Linked DNA regions of Homo sapiens: regions 1 and 2 are each linked to region 3. Evidence: promoter capture Hi-C in 16 types of primary human blood cells and fetal thymus (Javierre and others, 2016). All regions are on one chromosome and are shown on one strand. The core of a region is centred on a gene start or on the middle of the fragment in contact, and the rest is flanking DNA. Distances in the headings are between cores, read along the strand shown. Region 1 has its middle 57 kb from the start of SAYSD1. Region 2 has its middle 36 kb from the start of SAYSD1. Region 3 holds the start of KCNK16 (potassium two pore domain channel subfamily K member 16).

Region 1 (3,335 bases), core at 634-3,133, 150 kb before region 3:
ATGAGAGTTTTCCCCTGGGTAAGTCATGGATTACAACATCACTCCTGGTAGACTGTACTCTTGGGTTTGGAAGACACCTTAGGAGGTCAGCCCAGCTATTTCCCAAGCTCCAGGTGGGGTTACAGCCCTGGCCTTTCAGGTGGATTCATTCATTCATTTCACACGTTTGCTGTGGCACCATTCCAGGCATTAGGGATCAAACAATAAGTAAAAGCCAGACCTGGTCTCTGCCCTTTTGGAGCTCTCAGTCTAGTGGGACTGACAGGTAAGATTTTCCTGAAGAAGTGTCGCTTGAGTTGCATTTTGAAAAGGTCAACTTGGTGAAAAGAGGAGAGAAGCATATTTTAGGCAGTGGAACAGCTCATGTAAAGGCCCTGAGGCGAAACAGTGTATGGCTGGTTTTTAGAACTGAAAGGTCAGTGTGGCCAGGGAGCAGAGAGTGGGGAAGACCCTTGCATCTGATGAGATGAGTGCCTCCAGTAAGGTCTCTGTGCCTGCCATACCCTTTGATTAGTAGGTTACGGAGAACCTTAGGATATTAGAAAGTGAAGGAACCTTGGCCTTCATTCAGGCCAATGCTTTGAACCTGGCTTCAAGCCTCAGCTCCATTATAAATTAACTGTAAATGTGACCTTGGGTCATTGTTTTCTCATCCGAAAAATATCCAGTCAGGGGTGCAAGAAGTGACACCTACTTCGTCTAGACTAGGAGGGTGTCACAGAAGGCTTCATCAAGGAGCTATTTTTATTAGGACACATAATAGGCTGCTATAAAAAGAGACTGCAAATACAGAGACTTAAACAAGAAACACTTTGATTTCTCTCTCATGTAAACGTCTGAGTAGATGGTCCACAATATGGCAACTCAATGGTGGGGGAAGCCATGTGCCTTCTGCCTTATTGCATGGCCACCTTCAGCATATAGCTTCTGTTTCATATGGTCTAAAGTGATTGTTCCAGCTCCTGCCATCACATTTGCACTCCTCTTCCTTTTAAAGGCACTATCCAGAGGTTGCACACGCCATGTCTGCTCATATCTCGTTGGGACATAAGTCAGTCATGTGACCACATGTAGCTGCAAGGGAGTCTGAGAAATGTAATCTTTAGCTAGGGAGCCAGCTACAAATTCAATTACTGTGTAAGAATAGGAGAATGAATATTAAGAGGCAACAAGTAGTCTCTGCCACAGGGGATGACCCAGGGTTTGAAGGTGAAGTTGGGAGCCAGGGCTCTCCAAGCTTCTTCTCTGCCTTGAGCTGCCCTAGCCTGCTTCACTGAATTCAACAGGGCCAGGCTCCATCTTGCTCCATAATCCACCCCTATTCCTGCCAACTTCAGGAAGTCAACTCAGCCTGCAGAGGCTTTGGTAGTGTAGGGTTGCAGTCATGGAGGGTAGGCAGGCCCCATCATACCACACGCTGGGTTCTGGGAGGGTTCCCAGCAGGCTGGTAAGTCAGGCTCGAGATTAGGCAGGTTTCCATGCCTCACACTTGTCAGAGGCTACTGCTGCCACCCTTGCCTTCATGGAAGAGACCAGTCTGGAGTGGGTGGTGGGCTGGCTGTGTTTTCATGACCTGTTCCTGAGCCAGCACCAGGGCTGGTCCCCATAGTCAGGTAACCAGCTGGCAGCAGCAGTTGGGATGGCTCAGGAGCTCTTTCCCACCAGGTTATCTGACTCTGAGAAGGCCAAAACAGCCAACACCAGCAGATTCCAGGGGCTTGGGCCCTGCGGGCTGTCTGGGCAGCTCATCCCAGCCTTTGCTGGCAATGGCTGCCTTTTGGGGCCCCTGCTCTCCATGCTTGTTTTATCTGAGAAGGGTTAGGGATGGGGTGAAGCAGGGGCTATGGTAGAGCAGGGTTTCCCAACTTCAGCATTATTGACATATGGGGCTGGAAAACCCTTTGTTTGCAGGGGGCCGACCTGGGCATTGTAGGACGTTGAGCAGCATCCCTGGGCTCGACCCATGAGATGCCAGTGGCACCCCTACTCCCTCCCACAAGTTGCCAAACGTCTCCTGGGAGTGTGGGTGAATCAATCCTGACTGAAAACCACTGGTGTTGTTGGAAAAGGTCCTGATGTACCAAAGGAAGAAGTCAGGCATGGATGGATGGAGGGAGAGGGAGAGAGAGCAAGAAAGAGAGAGAATGGGGGAAAGGAAAGGGGAGAAACAGGTGGGGGGAGAAAAAAGGGGGAAGGATAGGTACTGAAAGTGAAAAAATAACATTCAAAAGGAAAATAAAAGGAGAAAATAAAAGAAAGAGGCAAGTTTAGAAAGGCCAGGCCCTAGAAGGCAGGGGCTGGAGGTAAGGGTTGGGGGATGTCAAGCAAGTCATCAGACCCCAGGGGTTGTTCTGAGGTCTGGAGATGTGATGGGGCAATGTAGGAGCTGGCCTGGGGCAAAGGGGCCATCTCAGAACTCTAGAGTTGTCAAAATTGAGAACCTGGATTCCCATCCCCTAGCAGCCAGGCCACATAGCAGAGCTTTTAAGGGTCATTCCTTAGCCGGGATCAGCAGGCAGGCCAGACTCCTCAAGCTTCTCCCAGGTCTCTGGATCTCTTAATGGGGTTAGAATTTGGATGTGGGATCTCTTCAATGTTTCTTTTTCACCTACAGAGAATTTTCACCAGTGACTGGGCCATTGCATAGAGGCTGACCGCTTTTGGTCTCTGCTATCTCCTAAAACCCCACTCAGATGTTACTGAGAAGGCATAACCCACAAGGACAAGAAAAGTGAAGTTGTGGGGTAGTCAGCAAAATTCTGGAAACTGAAAAGGGGAAGGACAGTTACTCACCCCCGGGAAGCAGCTGCACCGTAGCTGCCTGGCCTGGAGGTGGGAGGATGGTCAGGATGGCAATGAAAAGCAGGCTGCTTTGAGCTTCGAGCTTAGGGAGCCTCCAATGGCTCAGCGCTTGGAAACACTGGATACCTCAGAAGCGGGTGCCAGGGTGGAGGGCTGAGAGGGACTGGCTGGAAGTGAGTGAAGAAGCAGTGAGAGCCCCAGATCCCCTCCTACTTCTTGCAAAGCCTTCTCCACTATAGCAGAAGATGGGCTGGCTTATAGAGAGGTTAACACAGGTGAGGCTAGAAATTAAGTGCAAGTCTGCACACCAAAAGTAGTTTCCCCAAGCCCTTCCCCACTCAGCATCAGAACATTGGAACTGGTTTATATCTCTGAGCAAATTTGAGGGACTCAGCAAATTACTGGGAAATTGACCCAAGAGAAAGGACCTACAGATGCTGACATTTAGAGGTTTCTCAGTGAAAAAGTGGGCTGGCTACCAAGTTTACTGGGCACCAGCCCTGTTCACATACAGTCAACCCTCGAACAAGACG
Region 2 (3,231 bases), core at 567-3,066, 170 kb before region 3:
CATGTAACAGAACAAATATTTAAGGATACAATTTATCAAAATGTTTCAGAAACCAAGGAGAACATTAATCTAGCTATTGAAAAGGAACAACAGATTCCAGAAGAAATGAACAAAAGTCCTCATCACTGAGACATATCCTAGCAAAATTACTGTACTTCAGAGATAAAGAGTCTTTGGGTCAGCCAGGCAAAAAGGCTAAGAGAAGTGATTTGTTAACTTTAGGCTTCTCCAAATTAGCATGCAACCCCAGAAGACAGTGGAACTAATCCTAAAAGCTCCCCAAAGAAAGCAAGTGTGATCTAAAATTTTTACACCTGGCTTTTTATTTTTTAAAAATGTAAAATCAAACATTTTTGTGTATGCAAGAAATTAGGAAAGATTGTTCTTATAAACCCTTCCTGGAGAAACTATTAGAGGACCAACTTCAACACTAATGATGCTCAAAACAGAAGATAATAACGAATTACACAAGGAACATTGCCCAGTAAAGAAATTGACTGTCCATTGTCAGAATGGAAATGCCTGAAGAGGATTTAAATGTTTTGAAAGAGTCTGGTAACTTAATGGTACAGGAGCTAGGAAACACCAGTGTTTCAGAATACAGCCAAGAAATAAATGCAGAAAAGCAACCACGTCTGACAGCAGTGGAGATTAAGAATTTCTAAATTGATATACCACGATACTGCTGTCCAGTCTGCCTGAGAAGGTAAGGTCGGGCTAGATTTTTATAAGATGCCCTGGGAATATGGAATGTTTACCCTTCTTGGGAGTGGGACACTTGCCATTTTCTTCAGGGGAAGACTTTTTCTATAATGAGTGGAAATGTCAAGTGATTGAACAATGGATTGCACAGAAATTTAAAATGATCTTGGCAGAATTAAAATAAATCATTTAAAAGTTATCAGATTAATTTTGGGGACAAATAAGAACATTTTAATAGGGCTTGTATTTTAGATTTTGGAATTATTGTTAATTTTCTGAGGTATGAGCATGGTATTATGGTTGTGTAGGAAAGCATCCTTATATTTATAGAAGATTTATGTTGAAATATATAGGGGTGGAGTTCCACAAAATGTACGCTTTGCTTCCAAATTTGTCAGCAAAAAAGTGTATGTCATACCTAAGGAAAAATAAAATACAGTGAAATGGAAATAATGAGTGAATATTGGTGAGGAGTATATGGGGTATTCATTATACTAATCTTTCAACTTTTTCTGTAGGTGTGAGTTTCCAAAATAAAAAGTTATTCAATTCAGAACAGAATATCAAAGCAGCAAAGATATCTTTTAGAGAAATCAAGACCTAAAATAAACATCTTCCTGAGGAAGTATCTGGGCTTAAAGATACAATCAGTTGACTCGAAGAAACAATTCAAACGCACAGAAAGATGTGCTTACAGTTTGGGGAACAGAATATCAAGAAGACTGGAAAGCTGAAACTCTATGGAAAGGTTACACATCCTTTTTCTGTTTTTCTTTTGAGATGGAGTTTCGCTCTGTCACCCAGGCTGGAGTGCAATGGCATGATCTGGGCTCACTGCTCTCTGCCTCCCAGGTTCAAGCAATTCTCCTGCTTCAGCCTCCTGAGTAGCTGGGATTACAGGCACCTGCCACCAAGCCTGGCTGATTTTTGTATTTTTAGTAGAGATGGGGTTTCACCATGTTGGTCAGGCTGGTCTCAAATTCCTGACCTCATGATCCGCCCACCTCAGACTCCCAAAGTGTTGAGATAACAGGTGTGAGCCACCGTGTCCGGCCAGGTTACACATTTTTACAGGTAATTTTATTTTAAAACTTCCAGACAGGGGAGCTCCCTAATAAAGATTATCTAAGCAAAGTGAAGAGACAATGTCTTGACACTACTAAGTTCAAGAAGAAAAAATTCCAGACTTAAGTCGGCATGGAACAATTATTATTTGGGAAGGACAAGGTTGTAATGAATGAAATACTGAGCTCAGGAAATGAATTACATTGTATTTGAAATCTCAGAAAGTCCTAGAAGCAGCTCTATTGCACAAAGAGGATGAAACTCCCATTTTGAATAATTACACTGAGCTGCTGAAACACCTGATGATCAGGGTGAGAAGACAAAAAGTCAGAAAAGACAGACAGTAGCTACCGCTTCAACAAAATTAAGATCAGTTGGAAACAGTGGAGTCCATTTCCAATTCCGACTGTGTGATGACGTGTCAGCTAGGCAAAAGCAGGAAGCACAGAGAAGTTGGACATGGACCTTGGACACAGCATTTCATCAAAGCTCACCTGAAAAATGGATGCACAGCCTTGTAGCTGAAGCACAAGTTCTAAATGCCCTGGACAGGCAGAGAGGCATGGCTCCGCAGGAGAATGGATAGGAAGAGGGAGAGCAAGAGCTCTCAGCAGCAGAGGAAGTGAAAGCTCATCAGCAAGTAATTTAAGAACTGGAGGATGAATTACAGGGTGGGTGGGGGATGAGATCTAATAAGACCTAGATTGCTCTTAATGGTCGGAAAGTCCGTGACAGCAGGCATACCGCTGGTGCTGCAGAAAGAGCTTTAGTTGGAAAGAAGAGGCAAACTGCCAGACCCGGACAGAAATTAATACAAGGAAAACCAAGACACCAATGCTTCAAACACCAGTGGCTATAACTCCAGGAAGACACGATTACCAAATCCTATTATAGAGAGCTCTCCTGTGCCAAAGCTGATCTTTTGGCCCACCTGCCAGAACTGGAGGTGTCCTCTCCCCAGGGTCTGCTACATGAGTTGCTGGGTCCAGTACAAAATAAAAATGTGTGTCTCTTGATCGAAAAGCAAAGCCTGGGCAACATGGAAAAACCCAGCCACTACCTAAAATACAAAAAAAAAAAAAAAAAAATTAGCTGGGCATGGTGGCACACACTTGTAGTCCCAGCTACCTAGGGGACTGAGGCAGGAGGATCACTTGAACCTGGGAGGTCAAGGCTGCAGTGAGCCAAGATTGTTCCACTGCAGTCCAGCCTGGGAGACAAAGTGAGACTGTGTCTCAAAAAAAAAAAAAAGAGCAGGAAAAAATGCCCCTGAAGGTACTAAAATATATAGCTCTTTCCTTTCTTCTGAGGTTTGGTGCTTTCTGTCAACTTGGCATGGTATTTTTTACTTGCCACTTAAGGTAAATCTCAGTAAAGAAAAATTAAAAATTGTAATTATACCGTTCATCTTTACATTATCTAATGGCAGTTTTACTTATGTATTTAGAGACAGAGTCTTGCTGT
Region 3 (3,480 bases), core at 662-3,161:
ACCAACCCTTCCCACGCCCTCCAGCTTGGCTCTCACCTCCAATGCAGAGCTGAGGGAGGAGATTTCAGCTTCTCCAGGGCCTCTGCCTTACTCCCAGGGTTTTGGGAGGCCCCTGAACTGTTCTCAACCCTGATGTGGTACTATGGTCCCCCAACTTTGACTAACCTTATCCATCAGGGAGAAGAGAGTAAAACCTGAAGCTGGAGGCCTCACTTCCTGGTCTCTCACAGCTACAGAATGTTGTCTGTGACCACCCAGCCCACGCATCATCTTCTAGGCCAGCTGTTCTCAGTCTTCAGGGTCCTCAACATCACCTGGAGAGCCTGTTGACACACAGCCTGCAGGACCCATCCCTAGAGTTCCTGAGTCGGCAGGTGCGGAGTGGGGCTTGACATCTCCAGTTCTAACAGGCTCCCAGGTGATGCTGATTCTGGTCCCGGGACTACACTTTGAGAACTGCTGCTTCAGGTTGCATCCTGCCCCCAGCACTTATGCTAATTTGTGTGGTGAAGACCCGGGGCTCCAGAGCCAGAGGCCTGGGAGTGAATGCTGTCTCTACCAGTAGCTGTGCAGCCTTGGTCAACATATTCTACCTCAGTTCCCATCTACAAAGTGGAGATAGGGATTGTAATAGGTAATTATGAGAAAACACCTGTAACACGCTCAGTGTCAGGTGATGAGTGGATCATGATTGGATTAAGCTGGTCATGACCACCCTGCTTCCCACTGTTTTAGGCACATTGTGAATGCTCAGTAAATGCCAGTTATCAAGGTGATTTGGCACTTGGTCTGTTCCTTTGCAGGGGATGTTGTCACTCGCTCCAGTGCCTATTTCAGATGCATTCACCTCCCTCCACAACACCTGGTTTTGTCTTGTTTCTGGGAAAGAGGAAACCAGAAAGGACCCAGGCAGGGGGTGACCCACTCTGTTACCAAGAGAGAGCCCCATTTGGGTGCAGTGCTGGCAAGCTCAGTCACCTTGGCCATTGCCCACCAAACCCAACTCCAGGTGCAAACAGGCCAGGAAAGGACAGCTTGGTGGTGGCTGCTCCTGGCATTTATCTGTGTCTCCCACCCGCAGCCGTCTGCCCAGGGATATGAGCTGGGAGAGGGCAGAAGGAGCTGCAGCCCTGGAGTTGGGGAAGGGGAAGTATGAAAGTGTGGGAGGAGGAAATTTGGATAGCGTTGATAACGCTGACATATAGTTCCCATTCATCCAGCAAGTGACAGCTTAGAGAGTGCTTTTAATCTGCTGTCAAATGTCTGCAGTACCGATATGGTTATTCTTGTTGCCTTATAGATGAGGCTGTTTGGGTCCAGAGAGGTTAAGTGACCTGTTCAAGGTCACACATCAATCCAGTTGTAGACCTGGGGCCAGAATCCAGGATTAGATCTCACCAGGCTCTCTGTTCCCACCACACTCTTCTTCCAAATGGGGCATCAGCTCCTGGGTGAGGACTGTGGATCTGCCACAGGAACCCCATTCCACCAACCTTCCCAAGCCTCTCCATCCCAATCCCACATCGCTCCCCTTCACCTGCACAAACTGCTCCATGGCCCACTGGTCCAGGCAGGTGTAGTTCTCCAGGAAGCGCAGCTTCTCCAACTGAAACTGGTCCCTGGACTGAGCCTCCGCCTGCCTCTCTAGCAGCTGGAAGATAGTGGCACCGAGCAGCAGGTAGCAGACATAGGCCAGCAGCAGGGGCAGCACCCGGCCACCCCAGCAGCTGCAGAGCCCAGCACTGGGCATGCTGTGGCCAGGACCCTGCCAGGGCCGTGGGGCTGGCTATGGGGGAGAGGTGGGAAACAGGTGAGGAGTAAGCACCTAGGGGCCTGTGCCCAGGCTGCCGCCTGCCCTGCCCTCCTCCTCGGCACAGGTGTCTGGAGGCTGGGGAGACTGTTTGAACAGTGCGGCTCAGCTTGGCTGCACTAAGTGCTATGCTGTGAGTGCAAACAGGCCGGCCACCCCCACCCGGCCTTTGTTTCCATGGACAGCAGCAAGTCAGTGTCAGGGACCCTTCAAAGAGACCTACCAGGTTCTCCTGAGTGCTTCATGTCTCTCTCTCTGTCTCCAAGTTGGATAGATGTTTCTGGGCTAAATCGGATAGGTGTGCTCACTCTGTCCAGGCCCCAGTGGGCTCTCTCGGCCGCCCCCAGCGTCTTCACCCTTGAAGGCTGTAAGACCCCAGCTTAGGAGCTGGGAAGAGGTCAGAATGGGTATGAATAAACCTTCTACTCAGTTGCCTTGGCTACAAAATGGGGCAGGATAATTGAACTGCCTATTGGGGGAACCTCAGGATGAGTAAACTGCGTGACAAATCAGGGCAAAGTAAATAGACAGGTGATTGTCTCACTCAGCCTGATGGTAAGAGTATCAGGGTTGATTCTGCTGATAAGTTGGATTCATTGGTTTTATAACTCTTGCTAATTTGTCTTGCATGAAGCCCTCTAGTGGGTTACCTTCAGAGGATATGTCGGTGAAATATATGTGTGAATTAAAAAGAAACTATAAGTATATCCTGATCCTGGGATGGTAAGAGGGGCTGTCTCTGAGTGGATGGAATTGAGAGTGCTTTCCTTTCTCTTTGCCTGTGTGTGTGTGTGTACACATGCTTGTTTATGTACATGTATAACAGCTTTATACAGATATAATTCACATGCTGTATCGTCCACACATTTAAAGTGTGCAATTCAGTGGGTTTTAGTATATTCACAGGGTCTTCAAGATCCAGCCCTGTTGCAACATGTAACAGTACTTCTTCCTTCTTTCTGGCTGAGTAATATTTCATTGTGTGGCTATAACACATTTGTTTATCCATTTGATTTCTAGTTGATGGACATTTGGGTTGTCCCTGTTTCCTTCTATTAAGAACAAAGCAGCTATGAACCTCTGTGTATGAGTTTTTTTTGTGGACATGTGTTTGCATTACTCACAGGTACATACCTAGGAGTAGAATTTCTGGACTATCTGGCCACTCTGTATTGAACTTTTTGAGGAACTGCCAGGCTATTTTCCAAAGTGGCTGAACCATTTTATATTCTCACTAGCCCAGGGCGAGGATTCCAATATCTCTGCTGTGTTTTCTGCTGTTTCCTTTAATGAGCTGTGGCTGCAGACACTGTGAGTTGCCTGCTGAGTATCCTTTCCCTCCTCCCCAGCTAGCAGAACCCCGGCTTTGTAAGTGTTAACCCCAGGTAATTGAGCATAATTGGTCTAAGTCATAGTGCTAATCTTGCTCCCCTCTGTCTCAGCCCCTGAGAGCAGTGAAGTCACTGAAGACCCATAAGACAGTGGGCAAGAGGGCCAGGCTGAGGAGAAAGCCAAACAAGGCACCACAGTCCCAGCCTCAGCCTGGTTCCTGGGAGCTCTGGCAGGTGAAGTGCACCCCAGTGAGTCCCAGCAGGGGACCTGGGCCTTCATATCCCCACATTAGTCCGTCACTCATGCATTTCTGGCTTTGCGCACGTGCAGGAAAGATG

The links. The method cuts DNA at HindIII sites, captures the fragments that hold promoters and counts their contacts. A CHiCAGO score of 5 or more calls a contact.
Region 1: a contact is called between a fragment that was not itself captured here and the fragment with the promoter of KCNK16 in region 3, in 5 of 17 cell types (monocytes, neutrophils, total B cells and 2 more). The highest score is 9.4, in monocytes.
Region 2: a fragment that was not itself captured here is called in contact with the fragment with the promoter of KCNK16 in region 3 in 2 of 17 cell types (monocytes and neutrophils); the score reaches 8.3 in monocytes.

What each region holds. Positions count from the first base shown.
Region 1 is chr6:39,170,650-39,173,984 of GRCh38, forward strand. No RefSeq gene overlaps it. Among named protein-coding and RNA genes, the nearest start is that of SAYSD1, 57 kb to the left of the region's middle. The HindIII fragment of the contact is 1,297 bases long and covers 1,236-2,532 here.
Region 2 is chr6:39,150,047-39,153,277 of GRCh38, forward strand. No RefSeq gene overlaps it. Among named protein-coding and RNA genes, the nearest start is that of SAYSD1, 36 kb to the left of the region's middle. The HindIII fragment of the contact is 6,218 bases long and covers 1-3,231 here.
Region 3 is chr6:39,320,791-39,324,270 of GRCh38, forward strand. It overlaps KCNK16 (potassium two pore domain channel subfamily K member 16), which reads right to left and starts at 1,912. Exons shown (of 5, transcript NM_001135106.2): 1 at 1,538-1,912. The coding sequence starts at 1,750. All of the region lies in intron 1 of LOC105375047 (a long non-coding RNA gene), which reads left to right. The HindIII fragment of the contact is 9,631 bases long and covers 1-3,480 here.